Regions from separate parts of the Homo sapiens genome. Here region 1 is linked to region 2. Evidence: promoter capture Hi-C in 16 types of primary human blood cells and fetal thymus (Javierre and others, 2016). All regions are on one chromosome and are shown on one strand. Each heading gives the region's core, a stretch centred on a gene start or on the middle of the fragment in contact. The rest is flanking DNA. Distances are from core to core; before and after follow the strand shown. Region 1 overlaps OSER1 (oxidative stress responsive serine rich 1). Region 2 holds the start of LINC01620 (long intergenic non-protein coding RNA 1620).

What was found. The method cuts DNA at HindIII sites, captures the fragments that hold promoters and counts their contacts. A CHiCAGO score of 5 or more calls a contact.
Region 1: a fragment that was not itself captured here is called in contact with the fragment with the promoter of LINC01620 in region 2 in 2 of 17 cell types (megakaryocytes and erythroblasts); the score reaches 8.7 in megakaryocytes.

Annotation. Positions count from the first base shown.
Region 1 is chr20:44,194,440-44,198,532 of GRCh38, forward strand. OSER1 (oxidative stress responsive serine rich 1) reads right to left here. Exons shown (of 4, transcript NM_016470.8): 4 at 1,500-3,300. The coding sequence ends at 2,613. Among named protein-coding and RNA genes, the nearest start is that of JPH2, 9.3 kb to the left of the region's middle. The HindIII fragment of the contact is 2,051 bases long and covers 1,541-3,591 here.
Region 2 is chr20:44,463,291-44,467,210 of GRCh38, forward strand. It overlaps LINC01620 (long intergenic non-protein coding RNA 1620), which reads right to left and starts at 2,054. Exons shown (of 3, transcript NR_132343.1): 1 at 1,875-2,054. It also overlaps the pseudogene RPL37AP1. The HindIII fragment of the contact is 2,937 bases long and covers 1-2,381 here.

The DNA of each region.
Region 1 (4,093 bases), core at 1,316-3,815, 270 kb before region 2:
TGACTGCTGCACTAATATACAGCACTAAGTAAATAACCAGAGCGCTGGCTTGAAAAACAAACTAAAAGGGATTTAAAGGCTTAAGAACTCGCCTTAATTCAAAGAACATGTTAAGCCCATGTTAAGCCCACTTAACATGAACTTGAATAGCTCACTACTTAATTACAATAGCTCCACTCCTCTACAGCTTTTATTTTATTTTTGAGACGGAGTCTCGCTCTGTTGCCCAGGCTGGAGTGCAGTGGCGCAATCTTGGCTCACTGCAAGCTCCGCCTCCTGGGTTCACACCATTCTCCTGCCTCAGCCTCTGAGCAGCTGGGACTACAGGCGCCAGCCACCACGCCCGGCTAATTTTTTGTATTTTTAGTAGAGACGGGGTTTCACCGCGTTAGCCAGGATGGTCTCGATCTCCTGACCTTGTGTTCCGCCCGCCTCGGCCTCCCAAAGTGCTGGGATTAAAGGCGTGAGCCACCGTGCCCGGCCCAGTTTTAATTTTTTTAAAGGTGAGCCAAAACATTAGTTGTGGAGGTGAAAGCGGGGTGGTACCTTTACAACCAGAAGCTTAAATTTTGGTCCTGGAATCCCTGAGGCCCTTTTAGGAAATCTGAGGTCAAAATTATTTACATGGTACTAAAACATTACAGGTTGAGGGTCCCTAATCTGAAATGCTTCAAAATCCAGAACTTTTTGAGCACTGACATGAGGAGCAAAGGACATGCTCATTGGAGCAGTTTGGCTTTTAGGATTATGGAAGCTGAACTGATAAGCATGTAATGCAAATCTTTCAAAATCTAAAAAAAATCTGAGATCCGAAACACTTCTGGTCCCAAGCATTTCATATAAGGAATATTCAACCTGTAGTTGCCTTTTTCACATTCATTCTCCCAAGTGTACAAAAGTTTGCCAGAGACCACACAATATGCGATATCCCAGAGACTGAATGCAGAAACATATGAGAATCTGTCTTCTAATTAAGCCAAACATTAAAAAAGATTTGCAAAAAGGTAGAACAATGCCACTCTTCTATTTTTTGTTTTGGAAAAGCTATTTTTCATTCAAAAATTTTGTTAGCTTGTAATGAGTTTTTAAATATTTAAAAAAATCTTAGTTTTAATTTCTAACATGGTAAATATTTATATCCTTTTGGAGATTATAACAAAACCTTTTGGGTCCTGAATTTGTCAGTGTAAAGGAAGTGCTTACAAAAAGTTTGAGAATTTCTGCCTTAGATATACTAAATAGTGTACCTTCTGTCACCATTATCAGGAAATATCTGTCACAGCTTCTAGAACTGTGATAAGGTATTTTGCTCCCTTGCTTTAACCACAGCCTTCAGATGTCACTAAATCCACACCAAACCAATGACCAGCAGAGGACTCCCACTACTACTTAAGCTTAGGGTTTTTCTAGTAAACACCCTTCCCCTCTCCCCCAAGTACAAATCACCTATTTGTTGAAGCCCACATCCCATTATCATGAATCAACCACAGCCAGCGCAGTTTTAGTAAATAGTATAAATGTATTTTGTAATTTAAACAAAAGCTTCTGTTAACATTATTGCTAACATGGCTAGACACTGTCACTAAATTTGGTGGCTCTGCTCAGGATGGTCTGAACACATGCAACATTCTTTTTGGAGCCACCTGAAAAACAAGGATTCATCATCCAGCTGAAACCGAAGACAGATTTTTTTTTTACCAAACTGGAGGGAATTTTGAAATGGCTGACCAAATCTGTGGGATACAGAATGTACAAAATTCTCTTTTAGGGTTGCTGGGGTGACAGGGCAGCTCAAAGAGGTAACCATCTATAACATCTGAAACTGAGGTATGAGACCTGTATTACAACTGATAACAAAAAAAAAAAAAAAAAACCGCCATATATTTAAAATGCTGGAGATGGTGAAGACACACACTCGTTTCAAATATTACACCCCCTCCCTCCAACTGAAGCAGCCCATTCCAAGCTGCTTACTTGAAACTGCATGTAACATGTCTTAGGATGAATAGCACCAGCAGGGGCTTATTTAGTGATGGTTAATAACTCTCTCAAACAATAGAGGGCAGGCCAGCTAGTTTATTCAAATTGAATCTAAACCTTAGATCTCTGGCTTAACAATAACAAGAGAAACCTTTATAGACACAATATATCTTGCATTAAATCAGAGACGGTTTAAATCAGTCTTGTAACTTCTAATATTCTGGGCTGGCAACTACAGCATGACAAATGTTTAGTGCAGTTACAAAATCACATTTTACTTTCCTTGGCTAGCAAACCTTAAACAAATCTGAAAAATGCACTGTTTTACAAAGGCTTTTACCATATACCCACTGCTGCCAGTCTCAAGTAATTATGGTTTCTTCATCCCCCAGGAACATTTCTAAATAAGGGGGATTTTTCTTTGATCTGCTCGCCTTGAAGTGTATGTAAGAACTCAAGAGAGTAAGTTGAAAGAATGAAGATTAACTGAGATGCCAAGAAAAGTTTTTATTGCAAGCACAGTGAGCAGAAAGAGATGTCTTCTCACACAAAGTGGCCACAAGGTCTGCCATTAACTAAATCTCTTTGACAAGCCTTCATTGGTTTAAAGCATATGAATTAGCTTCTTGCTATCAGGTGTACATCATTTCTGCCATGTGGGACATTTTCTTGGGAATATACAAGTAATACTCCATGTAGCCTGACAGGTCCTCAATGGTCACATCATCCACGAAGACTCGAGCTTGCTCAGAACAGGATCGGGGAGAGCCAGACAGAGTTCTGGCGTGCAGCGACTGAGAGTAGTCCTCAAGTGTGGATCTTCGTTCTGGAGCCAAGGGAGGGACACTCTGCAGGCCTGAAAAGGAATACACTTCCATATCATGCCATCTCTTACACTGGCATTCCTTGCCTATGCATGTGCATGGCTTGCCCTGGTTTAGCTTGGAAACTGATTGAAAGTCAGAGAGATCACTGGCTTTGAGACTTGCTTGGGGGACTTGGGTAGCGTCAGAGGAGTCTTCCTTCTTACTCTCTGATGGGAGCCTTGGAACAGAAGTTCTCAAAGGCTCAACGACTGCCCCTGTGTGATTAGCATCGAGAGAAGTAGAGCTTTCTCCTGCACTGAACTCTTTAGGGGATGAAATTCCCAGCCCACTGCTGCCATCAGGTGAGTCAGTCTGGCTTTTGTGCTTGAGTTGACTGCTGGAAGAAGACGCTATTGTACTGCAATGTATAAACTTTGGAGGATGAAGGACAGGAGACTTAGAACGTCGACGACGCTGAGTTCTCACTGCTCCTCGTGAAGACTTCCTTGTAGACCTAAAGAGGAAAAAAAATATACAAGAAGATGTTGGGATATGGAGCTGTCCTAAACAGATTCTTTATGACAGTAGGAAATTTACCTTCCCTCAGCTTTATGAGTCTAAGCTCATAAATTTCCTGCAAGAGATGCACCTTCCTCCATTTTCATGCTGCCTAAGTCTTTGTGTCTCAACAACTTCAACATCATCTTATTAGCAAGCTATAGAACGAGGTGAGATAATGGTATTTTTTAACTGAATCACCTGGGCCAAACATTTGGGACAGAACACCTGCCCTGTTCCAACTCTAAGCTTGGGAGCCTTTGACCAGTGGGTCTGAGGGAAGCACCTCAAACATACAACTGAAACCGATCCTGTGAAGCCTAAATATTGTGCCCTAAACCTGAATATAGCAGCTTCAGAACCACTGTGAGGCTAACGTTACAAATGACCATTATGCCATTACTATTAAATAGATTTCTGATTCATTTCTATCATTGGTAACAGCCAATCAATCAAAACCAAAAAACTAACAATATTTACAACCCCTGAGGTTTTCAGATACTGGGAATTACTGGACACACTATGTAAGATAACTATTTATAAAATATTTAAATAGCCAGGCGCGGTGGCTCACGCCTGTAATCCCAGCACTTTGGGAGGCCGAGGCAGGTGGATCACGAGGTCAGGAGATTGAGACCATCCTGGCTAAAGCGGTGAAACCCCGTCTCTACTAAAAATACAAAAAATTAGCCGGGCGTGGTGGTGGGCGCCTGTAGTCCCAGATACTTGGGAGGCTGAGGCAGGAGAAT
Region 2 (3,920 bases), core at 804-3,303:
AGGTGAAGCACGGTGGCTCACACCTGTAATCCCAACACTTTGGGAGGCTGAGACGAGCAGATCACTTGAGCCCAGGAGTTTGAGACCAGCCTGGGCCACATAGCGAAACCGTGTCTCTACTAAACACCAAAAAATTAGCCAGGCATGGTGGCATGTGCCTGTCTGTAGTCTCAGCTACTCAGGAGGTTGAGGTGGGAGAATCGCTTGAGCCCTAAGGTCGAGCTGCAGTGAGCCGTGATCGCACCACTGCACTCCACTTTGTCTCAAACAAACAACAAAGAAAGATACAGAAGCCATAGTTTCTTCACCCATGCCCCTGGGCATGTCATTGTTTCCCCCAGTTTTTGCCTATTACAAATAAAACTGCTATGAACACTCATGTTCATGTCTTTGAGAGGACAAACGCTTTCATTATGCAGGAATACAATTGCTGGTCACATAAGTGTGTGTTTAACTTTTTAAGAAACTGCAAACTACTTCCCAGTCTGGCCTTTTTAATTATAGTCATTTTAGATGCACTCATTTTTTTTAACCTGTGGATCTAATAGATGGTTTCTTAGACTGTCTGGACCTCAGTGTTTTCATGTGTAAAATGGAGATAATTGGCCGGGTGCAGTGGCTCACGCCTGTAATCCCAGCACTTTAGGAGGCTGAGGCAGGCAGATCATGAGGTCAAGAGATCGAGACCATCCTGGCCAACATGGTGAAACCCCATCTCTACTGAAAGTACAAAAATTAGCTGGGCATGGTGGTGTGCACCTGTAGTCCCAGCTACTCGGGAGGCTGAGGCAGGAGAATCACATGAACCCGGGAGGCGGAGGTTGCAGTGAGTCAAGATCGTGCCACTGTACTCCAGCCTGGCAACAGAGCGAGACTCCATCTCAAAAAAGAAAGGAGATAATTACATCAGTTTTGAAAGGTAGTGAAGACAGAGTGAACTAGCACATAAGCACATATGCAGCACATAGAACAGGGACTGGGACATAGTAGGGGTTCCATAAACGGTGGGTTTTTGTTGTTGTTGTTGTTTTTGAGATGGAGTCTCGTGCAGTGTTGCAATCTCAGCTCACTGCAACCTCCGCCTCCCAGGTTCAAGTGATTCTCCTGCCTCAGCCTCCCAAGTAGCTGGGATTACAGGCACGCACCACCATGCCTGGCTAATTTTTGTATTTTTAGTGGAGACAAGGTTTCACCATGTTAGCCAGGCTGGTCTCGAACTCCTGACGTCAGGTGATCCACCTGCTTCGGCCTCCCAAAGTGCTGGATTACAGGTGTGAGCCACCAGCCTGGCCAAGGGTGATTATTTTATTACAATTGAACCACAGCCATCCTATGATCTGGCCACTTACCCCAGGATACAGCATCCTCAACTAGATGGCAAAAAGCCACTTCCTTTGCACTTAGTCAGTGCTGTTAGCCTGGAGGAATAACAATGGCACCATCGATTGTGCCAGGCACTATCCTAGGTGCTTTTGTATGTTGAATCCTTGCAAAGCCCTGTGAGGTGGGTCAGTGTTTGCCTTCTGTATGACAGATGAGAAAACTGGGATGTAGTAACTAGTCATTGGCCAAGGTCACACAGCAGTGAAGTAATGGTGCTGTGATTTGAATCTATGTAGTTTGATTTAGGATCTAGAAGTTTCGCTAATGGATTACCTAGCTCAGAACTAGTGAAAGAGCCCAGTCACAAAAGCACCTCCTGATGCCCAAAATCATTTTCAGCTCCTCAGACACAGAGCCTGAAGCAAAGATTAGGTACTGTGTGATTTATAAAGGAAAGAACCTGTAAGGGATGAAGGGAAGCAAGACAGGGAGGGAAACAAGAAAAGATGTGGTCTCAGGTAAAGTCTAGCAAAAAGGCTGGCTTTGTGTACCTCTGTACGAGTCAGCTGTTGGCTGCCAGCCACCCTGTGGGTGAGGGGAATAAACTCCAGGGTGAGGTGATTCCTGAGATGGCAGTTCTCCGTAGAAATGGAAATAGTAAGCCATTCGAAGCCAACAACTGAAGCATCTGGGGGGATGGTGTTGGTGTGCTAGCCCATGAAGGGCTCAAGAGGTTCCCAGAGGCACACTTCTTGCCTGCCTAATGAATCAAGTTCTAGAACATTCTGGAACATTCACTTCCTAGACTTGTTTTGGAGAATCCTCCTTCTCACTGAGACCAGCATGTTGAACAAACCCAGCCTGTGACATAATCAAAGCATACCTTAATTTGTATCTCCCAGTGTCCTTTCTAAGATGTATTTGGTAGAGAAACATTTTCCCTGCCACTGGGTGAAATCTCCCCATTATTCTTCTGCTTGTTCTGAGGAAACAGGCAATTCTATGGTCACTTTAGGTCACAAACACAACCTCAATTTAGAAATGAGAATGTCCAGTCAAGCTTCTAACCAAAATTCCCAATTTGATTTGGGTTTAAACCTTCTCCCCTCACCCTCAGGCCTGCTTCAGGGAGGTGGTGTGGGTGACTCCTTCTCTATCTCTCCTTCCCTCACCCACCCGTGGGGTACAGTGGGGGGTGTTGGAGATGGCAAGGGGAGAGGAAGGGTCTCCCTTGAGCTGCCACCATCCTGGCTGGCTTCAAGCTGCCCCTTTCTGTCGTGGGCTCCATGGAGATGGCCACTGTCACAGGGGCCCTCTCACTCTTAACCTTGGGGGATGCATCTCTCCTCATAGGGGTCCCTTGCAAGTCCTTCGTCAGCCCTTAGGAACCCAACATCCAACTCAAGCTTCTTGCTGCTGCCACACCTCTGCCCCTCCAGGAGGCTCTAGGGGACAGGACCCAAGAGGACCCCTTGTAGGTGCTCTCTGCCAACACTGGCCCATGGGAAACACTCCAGCCAGCAGCCTGTACTCCGAAAGTCCTGGGAATGTGGCTTACCTTAGCACGCCCACACTGGCTCCTTCACCAGTTCAGCCAGGCAGCCCGTTTCTCTCAGCCTCTAGATGTCCATGCCCACATGAGACCACTGGGCCCCCTCATAATGGCCACACATTATTCTCTACATATAGTGGCCCCTCTCATGGAAGAGCCCCCATGACCCCATTCCACCCTTCCAGGGAGATGGTCACCAAAGAACTCTTTGCTTCCTCTTCCCATCCTAGGAGAATGTGGTGGGTATAGGGGTAATAGTAAATGTGGGGGTTTTGGGTAGCCATGGCCAAATTTTAGCAGCTGTGGGTTTGGACTGGGCTCTTTTTTGTTGTTGTTGTTGTTACGTAAATTAACCCATTTATTACAGGCCAGTGATGTCTCAAAGAGTAGAGGAGCGTCTACTGGTCTTTCAACTCCTTCAGGCTTCTGATGGCGGACTTTACCGTGATAGCGGAGGTGGTATTGTATGTCCAGGCACCGCCAGCCACTGTCTTCACGCGGGAACCACAGTGCCAGATCCCCGCAGCTCATCTCTTCATCTTGGTTTTGCCACAGAAAGAGCAAGTGTACTTGGCCTGCTGGCTGATTTCAACTTTCTTCACCATTTTCCAGAGGGAGGCCCCATAGCGGGTCCCGTATTTACCGACGATCCCGACTTTCTTGGTAGGTTTGGCCATGTCACCGCGAACTAGGTCCGAGCCCAGAGAGTTGGACTGGGCTTTTAAAAAACAGTTACTGGTTGTCACAGCAGAGCTTTCTAGAAACATCTTACAAGTCATGTCCACCACCCCCAGCCTCAGTTTTTTCATATCCTTACTGCGGGTGGCAGCACCTTACTGGGTGGGGGTTTGTGGTGAGGGCTGAGTGAAGTAGTGAATTTGCGGAGCTAACACTCCAGAATTCCACAATCACAGACCTGCAAATTCCATCTCCGTGGGACCATTTACAAGTGATGTGGCTTCTCTGAGTCTGTTTACTCCTTTGTTAAATGGAAGAGCCTCTACTCCATTGCATCTCTGTAAGGTTAGTTAAGTGAATACATATG